3 separate regions of the Homo sapiens genome follow, and regions 1 and 3 are each linked to region 2. The links are contacts of gene promoters, found by promoter capture Hi-C in human tissues and cell types (Jung and others, 2019). All regions are on one chromosome and are shown on one strand. Each heading gives the region's core, a stretch centred on a gene start or on the middle of the fragment in contact. The rest is flanking DNA. Distances are from core to core; before and after follow the strand shown. Region 1 overlaps CTNNBL1 (catenin beta like 1). Region 2 holds the start of NNAT (neuronatin). Region 3 has its middle 25 kb from the start of SRC.

Evidence for each region. The method cuts DNA at HindIII sites, captures the fragments that hold promoters and counts their contacts. A contact is called where the count stands out against the background at its distance.
Region 1: a contact is called between a fragment that was not itself captured here and the fragment with the promoter of NNAT in region 2, in 1 of the 25 tissues and cell types used here (dorsolateral prefrontal cortex).
Region 3: a fragment that was not itself captured here is called in contact with the fragment with the promoter of NNAT in region 2 in 1 of the 25 tissues and cell types used here (spleen).

Annotation. Positions count from the first base shown.
Region 1 is chr20:37,706,750-37,711,272 of GRCh38, forward strand. All of the region lies in intron 1 of CTNNBL1 (catenin beta like 1), which reads left to right. Among named protein-coding and RNA genes, the nearest start is that of CTNNBL1, 15 kb to the left of the region's middle. The HindIII fragment of the contact is 3,185 bases long and covers 766-3,950 here.
Region 2 is chr20:37,518,928-37,523,157 of GRCh38, forward strand. NNAT (neuronatin) reads left to right here and starts at 2,323. Exons shown (of 3, transcript NM_005386.4): 1 at 2,323-2,476; 2 at 3,431-3,511; 3 at 3,740-4,230. The coding sequence starts at 2,405. The coding sequence ends at 3,832. BLCAP (BLCAP apoptosis inducing factor) reads right to left here. Exons shown (of 2, transcript NM_006698.4): 2 at 1-423. The coding sequence starts at 247. RefSeq lists enhancers at 1-531, 532-1,395. The HindIII fragment of the contact is 18,819 bases long and covers 1,453-4,230 here.
Region 3 is chr20:37,318,755-37,323,044 of GRCh38, forward strand. No RefSeq gene overlaps it. Among named protein-coding and RNA genes, the nearest start is that of SRC, 25 kb to the right of the region's middle. RefSeq lists an enhancer at 420-1,117. The HindIII fragment of the contact is 5,123 bases long and covers 1-4,290 here.

The DNA.
Region 1 (4,523 bases), core at 1,108-3,607, 190 kb after region 2:
TTTTCCAGAAAGTTTTCAATTTATTTTGCCCAGATCCATCAGAAGAATCACTATCCATGGCAGCTATAGACTTATGAATGCATTTCTTAAATATTAAAGAATAATACTTGAAAGTTGAAATTACTCTTTGATCCATGGGCTGCAGAATGGATGCTGTGTGTGCAGGCATATAATTAACATTCATCTCCTTGTACATCTCCATCAGACCTCTTGGGTGACCAGATGCATTGGCAATGAACAGTAATATTTTGGAAGAAATTTTTTTTTTTCTGAGCAGTAGGTCTTAACAGTGGGCTTAAAATATTCAGTAAACAATGCTGTAAACAGATATGCTGTCATCCAGGCTTTGTTATTCCATTTCTAGAACACAGGCAGGGTAGATTTAGCATAATTCCCAAGGGCCCTAGGATTTCAAAATGCTAAATGAGCATTGGCTTCAATTTAAAAGTCATTAGTCCCTAAGAAGAGCATCAGCCTGTCCTTTGAAGCTTTGAGGCCAGGCATTGACTTCTCTCTAGCTGTGAAAATCCTAGATGGCCTCTTCTTCCAACAGAAGGCTGTTTTGTCAACATTGAAAATCTGTTGTTTAGTGTAGCCACCTTCATCAATGATCTTAGCTAATTCTTCTGACTAACTTGCTGCAGCTTCTACATCAGCACTTCTGGGTTCACCTTGCGCTTTCATGTTATGGAAGTGGCTTCTTTCCTTAAGCCTTATGAATAAGCCTCTGCTAGCTTCAAACTTTGTGTGCAGCTTCCTCACCTCTCTTAGCCTTCATAGAACTGAAGAGAGTTAGGGCCTTGCTCTGGATTAGGCTTGGCTCAAGAGAATGTTGTGACTGGTTTGATCTTCTGTCCAGAGCACTAAGACTTTCTCCATATAAGCAGTAAGGCTCTTTAGCTCTTTTACTATTCATATGTTTACTGGAGTAGCACTTTTAATATCCTTCAAGAGCTTTTCCTGTGCATTCACGCTTTTCTGTCTGGTATAACAGGCCTCGCTTTCGGCCCATTGCCGCTTTCAACATCCTTTCCTCACTAAAGCTTAATCATGTATAGCTTTTGATTTAAAGTGAGAGATGTGAGACTCTTTCTTTCACTTGAACACTTAGGGCCATTGTAGGGTTATTAATTACTTAATTGCAGTATTGTTGTGTCTCAGAGAATAGGGAGACCTGAGGAGAGAGAGAGAGAGAGAGAAAGAGGAAAGGCTGGTTGAGGCACTCAGAACACACACATTTATTCATTAAGTTCGCTGTCTCACGTGGGCGTGTTTGTAGTGCCTGAAAACAAAGTAGTAATATTAAAGATCACTCATCACGGATTACCATAGCAGATATGATAATAATGAAAAAGTTTGAAACATTGCAGTAATTGTCAAAATGTGACACAGACATGAAGTGAACACATGATTTTGGAAAAATGGCAGCGATAGACTTTCTTTTTTTTTTTTTTGGAGGTAGAGTCTGGCTCTATTGCCCAGGCTGGAGTACAGCAGCAGGATCATGGTTCCCTGCAGCCTTGACCTCATGGGCTCGAGCAATCCCAGATTAGCTGGGACTACAGGTGTGTGCCACCATGCCCAGCTAATTTTTGTATTTTTTGTAGAGATGGGGTTTTGGCATGTTGCCCAGTCTGGTCTGAAACTCTTGGGCTCAAGTGATCTGCCCACCTCAGCCTCCCAAAGTGTTGGGATTACAGGTGTGAGCCACCGCGCCCAGCTGATAGACTTTCTTGATGCGGGGTTTCTATAAATCTTCAATTTGTAAAAAGCACAGTATCTGCAAAGGGGGAAAAAAATGAGGTATGCTTGTAGTTCAGAACTAGTTTCTTTTCCATAGAATTCCAGCAGTGACTGATCTGAAAATGTTTTAGCCTAAACTTTAGAATTCCAGCTCCATTGTGGGTTGGTAAATGGAAATTAGCTTTTCTTCATCCTGGAGTTCAGTGAAGGATCTAGTGAGACTACTGCAGTGCCTTTCTATCTTTTAACTCACTTTGGATTATCAGCTGCTTGTAAGCAGATTATGTGCACTGGCTCTTTGTACTTCCTTTCAACAGCTACCCAGCAATATCTAGAGTCACTGAACTAAGAAGGAGTTGAAACTGGCCAGGCGCGGTGGCTCACACCTGTAATCCCAGCACTTTGGGACGCCGAGGTGGGCGAATTATGAGGTCAAGAGATCGAGACCATCCTGGCCAACATGGTGAAACCCTGTCTCTACTGAAAATACAAAAATTAGTTGGGCATGGTAGCATGCACCTGTAGTGCCAGCTACTCAGGAGGCTGAGACAGGAGAATTGCTTGAACCTGGGAGGTGGAGGGTGCAGTGAGCCGAGATCGCGCCACTGCACTCCAGCCTGGCAACAGAGCAAGACTCCGTCCAAAAAAACAAACAAAAAAAAAGAGGGAGTTGAAACCAAGCAGAGTATCATGATGCTTCTCTCTGAATATATCTGACTTTATTCCAAAAGCAGGCATGATTGATTCTTGAACAGTTTTGCTGGCATTATTTTTAGTGCAGATTCTAGCTTCATGTTTGGCATTATTCATGTGCTCATTCTGTTAATACATAAAATTGAGGGTTGATGACATTTCTTTATTTGAATCCCCTATTTCCAGTTAAGAGCATCTCAGTTTAAATTTTCTTTTGGGATCCTTGATAGAGTTAAACATTAGCAGCACACCAGTCCTCTGCTGGTATATAATGTTGGAATGCGATTTTCTTTGCAGCTTTGTATAAAAAGAAACAAATTGTAGCTACAGTTTGTCATGTTATCTTTTAGCAGACGCTCTCAACATCAATGCTTCCATAATAGGATTAATGATGGGGGAAACTTTTGAGCATCTCAAGCTTGCATAGTTATTCACAGAGAAGCTGAAACACGTAATGGGGGCTCTGGCCAGGAGTACCTCTATTGGGCAAGGGAAGGTAGAGATGCCGAAGGACTAACAGAATAGTGAAACTCGGCAATAAAGGAGGACACGAAAAAGACATTGCGATTGATTGAGGGTTGTAGCTGAAAGAAACCCATAATGAGATTCCTTTTTTAAAAAAGGTGGCACAGATTGTATTGAATTGTACTAACTTCTTGTTTCTCTGGTGTCTTTGGAAAATGTGATGCCCTTCAGAAACAGACTTTCCAGGTAACTGAAGCTTTTAAGTGGCAAGACGATCTATTCCAGCTTCTTCTTTGTACACATGGGTAAACCAGAGAGCCCAGAGAGGGAAATAACTTTAGCACCCCAACAACTTGGTGACAAAATCGGGGTCAGGCAGTGCTGTGTCCTTGATTATGCGTCCTCTTTTCCATGTGCAAAACATGTATTTTTCATCATTTTGTATGGAGAGCTTTCTAAAACATGAACATTCTTGCCTTTCTCAGTAGGACACACTGTGATCTCAGGAGCATCATTATGAATACATGTTAGTTGTGCCTGAATTCTCTCATGACCTTTTGAAATCTGGAAAGCTTTTACTTCTGCACTGTGGAATAGTAGGGATTTTGAGTTCTTGTGCCTACTTTGTGTAGTTTACATTCTTTTCCTTGGTGTCAGCTGTCACTCCTTAGTGTTATTGTTTGTTTGATATGATATCTAACCTCTAAGGCCTTTTTTGCCCATTCTTTTAATGGTGTTTTGAAAAGTTGAGGTTGTTGGAAGAATGAAGCATTCGTATTCTTGGTCATTTTTGGATGAACTGCAAAACTTTTTAGAGCTCTGTTGCTAGATTCCGAAGTCTGTGAGATACTAGAAATCATTTTAGCCTGAGTAGTCTATATTTTCCATGTTGCTTTTCCTCTAGCATCTCTTTGCCCCCCCCACTGCCATCCTGGGAACTAGAGAACATCTGAGCAATTACTGTTGTCCACTAATCATGAGTCTTTCAAGTGAAACTACCACTCACAAATAGGGGCTTAACCTGGCCTTCTGTGGGGTGCTCCTTTCTTTCATGATGCTTATCTTTCTGGAAGGTAGCCATTTACCTGTCTGATTGCCTTAACCCTGTATCTTTTAGTCAGCCTTATATCCATATACACACACCCACAGGCCCGTGAAATCTAATTATATCGATCACCTGAGACCCTGTATGTTTGTTCTTCACCAGTTTATGCCTCTGCTCACTTCTTGTCTTGTGCCTGACTCTTGGCTCTCTGTCATACCCTACCTCTGCTTTCGTCTCCTCTCCAACACACACACCAGTTTCTTTAGGCTTGATATGTACATGTGCTCTGTGGCTCCCAACCCAGAGTCTATTATTAAGGGCTCTGCATGGTTGGGATGGGAGCTGCCATATACAGTGTGCCTCATATGGTGTGCCCTACCCTAGCTGGACCTTTAAGACCCAACCTTTGGCCCTAGCCCATTATCTGGCCCATCTGATCCTCCTGTGAAAGGACAGTTTGAGCAAAACCTTGCTTGAGAAGCTTACAGACTTTCCAGTTCTGCAACTCTGACAGTCTGTGAGTTCTCGTCTTATCTCCTTTTGCCATAGTTTCCTAGTCATTCACCAGGGGTTGGTA
Region 2 (4,230 bases), core at 1,073-3,572:
CGGGATCATGCGCCGATTCTGGAAGCGGGGAATCGGAGCAGTGGTACAGGAAACAGTTTCCCCAGCAGCTATAGCAGATAAGGAACAGGGCTGCCAGGAAAACCAAGGCACAAATTGTGCAAGGCTTCCGTTCCAGGAGGAAGCTGAGCAGGTAGAAGCCCATGAACATGGAGTGGCTGAACCACAGGGCGGGGTTGAGGGGCTTGGGGATGAGGAGGACGGGCAGCAGCCACTGGAGGCAATACATGATCTCTGCCGGGCAGGGCCTTCACCAAGGCTGCCGGGCACCGCTGCAGGAACCGACCTAATGGGAGCCAGCGGGCGCAGGCGGCTGCCCTCCGCTTTCTTCAACCCTCACTCTCCAGGAGCTGAGCCGCTGTGCTCTCTGGCTGTCAGCCCGGGATCACCAAGGCAGCAGGGATCCTGAAGAGAAAAGTCAACACAACAGACAAACAGACAAAGAACAGACAGACAGACAAAAAAAAAAAAAAAAAAAGAAAAAAAAAAAAAAAACAGGAACAGAATGTATACTTATTTGGGAAAATGGATCATGGTTAACAACAGCAAATGTGAAATGCCCTTTCCTCCCTGCCCACCCGTGAAAGTTCTACTCCTCTCCAAGTCACTAATTCGGGAAGCTTCCTGGGATGTCTCCCCGGGGCTTCTCCTGGGGGATCGGGGAGAGGGCTCTTTGGCACGGTTTCACACAGTGGGCTGGCTTTGCCTGGGCCCTGCCCAGCAGAGATCATGTATCGCCTCCTGGGGCTGCAGCCCGTCCTCAAGGGGCCCAGACCTCACAATACCGCCCAGTGGTTGCCAAAGGACGACCAAGGGCTCCCTGCTGTGCCCCCACGTGGTAAGGACAGGGTTCTGTATCTAGCATCTCTCACAGCCATAGGTGCTCAGGCACTAAGTGCAGAGTTAAAGCTGTTAGCGGGGCACTGCCGGCCACCAGACCACAGGCAAAGGATCCTGAGGCAGCTACAGCCTCGAAATATTTTAAGATGGCAGCCTAGGCTAAGCTTGCCTTTTTCAAACAGCCCAGCGTCACTTTGCCAGAATCTGCCAACTTCTCCGAAAGTCAATGTAGAAAAAAAGTCACTATGCTACTTTGTCCAAACTGAACTCGTTTGGATCATTACACCTCCATCTGCTGCTGGCACTGTATAGAACCTGACCTCTGGGAGCTTTTAATGAAAATTAATTTTCTATCCACATAGGGGCAAATGCCAGTTGGTCCCTGGGCCAGGCAGCTTGCTGGAAAGAGGTGCTTTCGGCTGGCTACCGGTGCGCGGGGACCACACTCACAAACCGCATTCCGGTCTTCCCGCCCGAAAATCCGCGCTGTGCGAGGGACCCACAAGACTGGCGGTCTAAAAGGGACCCGCCTCACTTGGAAACGGGGCTGCGGTAGCCACAACCCTCCGGTAGCGGTAGCGTAACCCCGTTCGGTGATCCAGCCGCACAGCGCAACGGGTACAAAGAACCCCACTGGCTAAGGCCGACCTACCAGGGCTTGGGGGAGGGGAGCGGAAGACTGAGGTCGAAACGACCTGTCCAGCAGAAAACTATCCCCAAGCATATTCCAACCACTTCTCCGTAGAGCTCATTCCTTCCGTGCATACGAAGGGCGCCAATCCTTCCTGTATCCCTCCTACAGATACCGGGTGACTACTGCTTTTGCGCCCAAAGCGCAGTGCTCTGGCTCAGCTCCCTACAGTAGCGACCTCCACCGCAGATTCTCATCTCCTCGCTACCGTAAGAGAGATGTAAAGAATCAGACGGGTTACGCGCTCAGGCACCCTCATGAAGCAGAGGACCTGGGCTTAAAACTCATTCAGTATCAGGAAAAGAGCGCCGAGCACGGGCCTATTATGCCAAAGCTTCTGAAAGGGGCACCACGTTTTTTGCTCTATGGGGCAGATGACCCCTCCCTAATTTCGGTTTTCCATCCATCCCCAAGGTAGGCTTTGGAGTGGCACCGGAGACTGAGCTCAAATTTGCAGGCCAGGGACTGGGGAGAAGGGCGCCACACTAAGAGACCTGCACCCCCATTCTCGCCCTGTACTCTACCCAGAGTCGTGGTACCCCTCCATTTTAAAGCAAAATCCAAAAGCAAGCACGGCGGAATCTTCTGGAAGGGGGCTAAGATGGAACTCAGGAGGCGGGGGTCGGTATGGAAAGAGCAGATGGATTATTTTTTTCCTCTCCTGGCGAATGAGGAGCGCCCCCAGCCACCCCTCCTCATAAACACCCCCCAAGGCGCGCATGCGCACTTAGGTGGCGGGCGGGTACTTAAGGCGCGGCCACCGCGGCTGCGGCAGTGCGCCCAACAGCGGACTCCGAGACCAGCGGATCTCGGCAAACCCTCTTTCTCGACCACCCACCTACCATTCTTGGAACCATGGCGGCAGTGGCGGCGGCCTCGGCTGAACTGCTCATCATCGGCTGGTACATCTTCCGCGTGCTGCTGCAGGTAAGTCTGACGGGGTTTCGGGTGGGAGAGGGTTCCCAACTCGCGCCCCTAGAACCCGCAAGACTGCGTCGCGATTGCCGCTTCCCGGACCCGTCCTATTCCGATTGCCGCGATCCTTGCCTGCCCAAGTGCCGCTGCCGGCACCGCGCGCCCCCTGCCCATTCCCTGCGCCGTCCTCCTCGCGCTGACCCTCCCTAGTGCGCCCGCGCCTGCCAGGGAACAAAGACTCGGGGCGCGGCGGGCGACCGCTGCGGACGATCACCCAGGCATTTAGCGACCTACGCGGTAAGAAAAACCCGCTACACCCGGACTCGACCCCAGGAGGGAGGCGGGGCACTACTGTGTTGAAAGACTTTACAGCTCGCAGAGTGAAAATTTTCCACCTTAAAAAATTGCGCATTGCGGAGAAATTTTATTTAAAAAAACATATAGCGCTTGCGGGGGTGGAACAAAAAATAAGTTAGAAAAAGGCACTTCTCAGAAAAAATAAAAATTACTTCGCAAAAAAAAAAAACCCTACAACGAATTAGAGAAAAAGTAGTTCACAGGAAAACAGAAAAACGCGCATTGCAGGAAAAATAAATCGGAGAAAAGCACTTGGCAGAAAAAAATGCATTAGATTAAAAACGCACTGCAGAAAAAAATTAGACAAGGGAGCTAACGGAAAAAAATGGATCGGGCAAAAACGCTTTAAAGAAAAAAATTAGAGGAAAAAGCCCCTCGAGAGAAAAATAGAAGGGGAAAAAAAGCACTTCCAAAAAAGGACAATTGCTTTACAAAAAAAAAAATAATAATAAAAAAAATAAAAAAGAGGCAAAAGCGCTTGGTGTAAAAAGAGATAAATCAGAAGAAAGCGCTTTGCCCATAAAATCATTTACCCTAAAAGCTCCCTTTGCAGGAAGAATTCCCTGCTAAAGGAATCCTTTGCCAAAGGAATCGCATATTTCCTTCAAGGTGTTCCTGGAATGCTGCATTTACTGGGTAGGATTCGCTTTTCGAAATCCTCCAGGGACACAGCCCATTGCGAGAAGTGAGGTATACCTAAGTTGTGGGTCCAATCAGCTTGCCGCCATGCAGCTCTCAGCACAGTTGGAAAAGCTCCAGCTGCCCTGACTCGTGGACAAGCTGCGCCCGCGCCCGCCTCTCCAGCCTACGCTGGATGGGCGGGCGGGGCAGGGGGTGGGGCGGGGGTGGGCACGGCAGCACCACAGACATGCTGTGGGTGCTCTCCACTAAGGGTGGGTCCTGGGTTTCTCGTCGCAGGTGTTCAGGTACTCCCTGCAGAAGCTGGCATACACGGTGTCGCGGACCGGGCGGCAGGTGTTGGGGGAGCGCAGGCAGCGAGCCCCCAACTGAGGCCCCAGCTCCCAGCCCTGGGCGGCCGTATCATCAGGTGCTCCTGTGCATCTCGGCCAGCACGGGAGCCAGTGCCGCGCAGGAATGTGGGGTCCCCTGTGTTCCCTCGCCAGAGGAGCACTTGGCAAGGTCAGTGAGGGGCCAGTAGACCCCCGGAGAAGCAGTACCGACAATGACGAAGATACCAGATCCCTTCCCAACCCCTTTGCACCGGTCCCACTAAGGGGCAGGGTCGAGAGAGGAGGGGGGATAGGGGGAGCAGACCCCTGAGATCTGGGCATAGGCACCGCATTCTGATCTGGACAAAGTCGGGACAGCACCATCCCAGCCCCGAAGCCAGGGCCATGCCAGCAGGCCCCACCATGGAAATCAAAACACCGCACCAGCCAGCAGAATGG
Region 3 (4,290 bases), core at 548-3,047, 200 kb before region 2:
GTATTAGGATTTTCCAGAGAAACATAGAAGGAGACTTTAAAAGTTTGTATTTTTTGAGATGGAGTCTTGCTCTGTCACCCAGGTTGGAGTGCAGTGGCGCGATCTCAGCTCCCTGCAGCCTCCGCCTCCCGGGTTCAAGCGATTCTCCTGCCTCAGCCTCCCAAGTAGCTGGGATTACAGGCATGTGCCACCACGCACAGCTAGTTTTTGTATTTTTAGTAGAGATGGGGTTTCGCCATGTTGGCCAGGCTGGTCTCGAACTCCTGGCCACAAGTGATCCACCTGCCTTGGCCTCCCAAAGTGCTGGGATTACAGGCATGAACCACCGTACCCAGCGAGACTTCTTACAAGATATTGTCTCCAGTGATTATGGAGGCCGAGAAGTCCCACGATCTGCTGCCTGCAAGCTGGAAACCCAAGAAAGCCAGTAAGGGGCCGATGGTGTAGATTCTGTCTGAGTCTGAAGGCCTGAGAACCTGGAGTGCTGAGAGAAGACAAATGTCCCAGCTCATGCAGTCAGACAGCGGGAGGGCGAGTCCAACCTTCCTCTTTTTGTTCTGTTCAGGCCCTTAAATGGATGAGGCCCACCCGCTTTACTCAGTCCACAGATTCAAATGCTAATCTCTTCCGGAACACAGACACACCCAGAAATACTATTTAATCAGATACCTGCTCGTCCTGTGGCCTAGTCAAGTTGACATATAAAATTAACCATCACACCACTCACATGCTGATGTCTCCCAGACGGATCTCTCCAGCCCTACTCCTGAGCTCCAGACTCACATATCTGACTTCCTACTCATTATCTCCATTTGAATACACAACAGGCATCTCAAAGCACATTCCTGATCTCACCAGCAGCCCCAAGCCTGCTCTTTTCGTGGTCTTCCCTATCTTAAAGAGCATCTTAAGAAAAACAAAGTATCTATTTAAAATATACAACTTGCTGATTTGATATACGTATATGTTGTGAAATAATCACCACAATCAAGCTAATTAAAATATCCATCACCTCACATAGTTATATGTGTGTGTGTCGGGCGGTGGGGCGTGGGGGTGAGAACACTTAGGATCTTAGAAAATTTCAAGTATATACGGTTGACCCTTGAGCAACATGGGTTTGAACTGTGTGGTCCACTTATACGCAGCTTTTTTTCAGTAAATACAATTCCTTCATATCCACATCCACATCTACAACCAAGGGCATATCAAAAATAGTGTTTGTGGGATGCGAAATCCACATATATGGAGGACTAACTTCTCCTAGAGGTGGGTTTCACAGGGCCCACCTCGAGACTTGAATATGTGTGGATTTTGATGTCTGTGGGGGTCCTGAAACAAATCCCAGGCAGATACCCAGGGATGACTATAGTACAGTATCATTGTCTATAGTCACCGTGCTATACATTAGATCTCCAGCACGCTTTCATCTTGCATAACTGAAACTTTGTGCCCCTTAACCAACAGCTCCCCGTCACCCACTACTCCCAGTCCTTAGCAACCTCCATTCTACTCTCTGATTTTGCAGGTTTGACTATTTTAGATTCTACATATAAATGAGATCATGCAATATTTCTCGCTCTGTGTCTGGCTTATTTCACAGGTCCATTCATGTTGTTGCAAATGGCAGAATTTCTTTTTTTTTTTTTTCTTTTCTGTTTTTTTTTTTTTGAGATGGAGTCTCGCTCTGTCACCCAGGCTGGAGTGCAGTGGTACGATCTCGGCTCACTGCAACCTCCACCTCCTGGGTTCAAGTGATTCTCCTGCCTCAGCCTCCTGAGTATCTGGGACTACAGGCACTCGTCATCATGCCCGGCTAATTTTTGTATTTTTAGTAGAGACAGGGTTTCACCATGTTGGCCAGACTGGTCTCAAACTCCTGACATCGTGACCTGCCCGCCCCGGCCTCTGGGGTTATAGGCGTGAGCCACTGTGCCTAGCCTGGATTTCCGTTTTGTGGTTTTTTTTTTGTTTTTTTTGAGGCAGAGTCTTGCTCTGTCGCCCAGGCTGGAGTGCAGTGGCCCGATCTCGGCTCACTGCAAGCTCCGCTTCCCAGGTTCATGCCATTCTTTTACCTCAGCCTCCCGATTAGCTGCGACTACAGGCTCCCACCACCACGCCTGGCTAATTTTTTGTATTTTTAGTAGAGATGGGGTTTCACTGTGTTAGCCAAGATGGTCTCGATCTCCTGACCTCGTGATCCGCCCACCTCGGCCTCCCAAAGTGCTGGGATTACAGGCATGAGCCACCACGCCCGGCCTCCTTTTTTTTTTTTTGTTAAGGCTTAATAATATTCCATTGTATGTACACCACATTTCCTTTATCCATTCATCAGTTGATGAACATATAGGTTGTTTCTGTATCTTATCTATTATGAATAATGCTGCAATAAACATAGGAATGTAGCATTTCTTTGAGATACTGATTTAATTTCCTTTGGATAAATACCCAGAAGTGGGATTGTTGGATCATTTGGTAGTTCTTTTTTTATTATTATTTTTTGAGGAGCCTCCACACCATTTTCTATAATGGCTGTACCAATTTACATTCCCACCAGTAGAGTACCAGGTTCCAATTTCTAAACATCTTTGCCAACAGTTACCTTTTGTTTTTAAAATAATAGCCCCTCTAATAGGTGTGAGGTGATATCTCCCGGTTTTGATTTGCATATTTAGTGATGTTGATAACCCTTCCATAGACCTGCTGACCATTAGTATGTTTTCTTTGGAAAACTGTCTATTTAGGTCCTTTGACCATTTAAAAAATTGGGTTCGTTGGGTTGTTTTTTTGCTATGGAGTTGTATGAGTTTCTTATATATTTTGGATATTAATACCCTATCATATATATGATTTGCAAACATTTTCTTCCATTCTGTAGATGGCCTTTTCATTTTGTTGATTGTTTCCTTTGCTGTGCAGAAACTTTTTAGTTTGATGCAGTCCTATTTTTTTTATTTTTGTGTTTGTTGCCTGTGCTTTAGTTGCCATATCCAAAAAATTGTTGCCAAGGCCAATGTCAAAATGCTTTTTCCCGGCTGGGTGTGGTGGCTCACACTTATAATCCCAGCATTTTGAGAGGCCTAGCTGGGAAGACATTTGAGGCCCAGAGTTTGAGACGAGCCTGGGCAACATAGTGAGAACATAGTGAGACACCATCTCTGCAAAAAAAAAAAAAAAAAAAAAAAAAAAATTAAATTACATATATATGATTTTAAAAAGCTTTTTCCCTGTTTTCTTCTAGGAGTTTTAAAATTTCAGATTTTATATTTAAGTGTTTAATCTATTTTGAGATGATTTTTGTATATAGTATAAGGGTTCAATTTCATTATTTTGTAAGTGGCTATCTAGTTTTCCAAGCACCATTTATTTTTTATTTTTTTTTGAGACAGAATCTCTCTATTGCCCAGGCTGGAGTGCAATGGCACAATTATGGCTCATTGTAGCCAAAGACTCAAGTGATCTTCCTGCCTCAGCCTCCCAAGTAGCTGGGACTGCAGGTGCACACCACCACACCCAGCTATTTTTTTATTTTTTGTAGAGACAGAGTCCCAGTATGTTGCCTAGGCTGGTCTTGAACTCCTGGGCTTAAGTGATCCTCCTGCCTCACCTTCCCAAAGGTCTAAGATTACAGGCTTGAGCCACTTTGCCCAGCCCAACACCATTTATTGAAGAGGTTATCTTTCCCCTTTTGTGTATTCTTAGTGCCCTTGTCAAAGATTAGTTGACCATATATGCTTGGGTCTATTTCCAGGCTCTTTGTTCTTTTCAATTGAACTATTGTTTTTATGTCAGTACCATATTGTTTTGATTACTAGAGCTTTGTAATATAATTTGAAATCAGGAAGTGTGATGCCTCCAGCTTTGTTCTTTCTCAAGATTGCTCTGGTTATGTGAGGTCTCTTGTGGGTCATATGAATTTTGGGATTTTCTTTTTTATTTCTGTGAAAAATACCATTGGAATTTTGATAGGGATTACATTTCATCTGTAGGTTGCTTTGGGTAATATGGACATTTTAGAAATATTAATTCTTCCAATCCATGAACACATTGGAATATCTTTCACTTCTCTGTGTCTTAAACAACATCTTAATTCTTCCAGTTGCTTGGGCCAAAAACCTTGAAGTTATTCTTAACTTCCCTCTCTCTGTCATACTCCACTTCTGACCCTGAAGTATCTCCTTGACACTCAACCTTAAAAATCCAGAATGATACTATCTCACCACTTCACTATCCTCATCTCACCTGGATATTGCAGCAGCCTCCTCACTGGTAGTCTGTTCTCAAAACAGC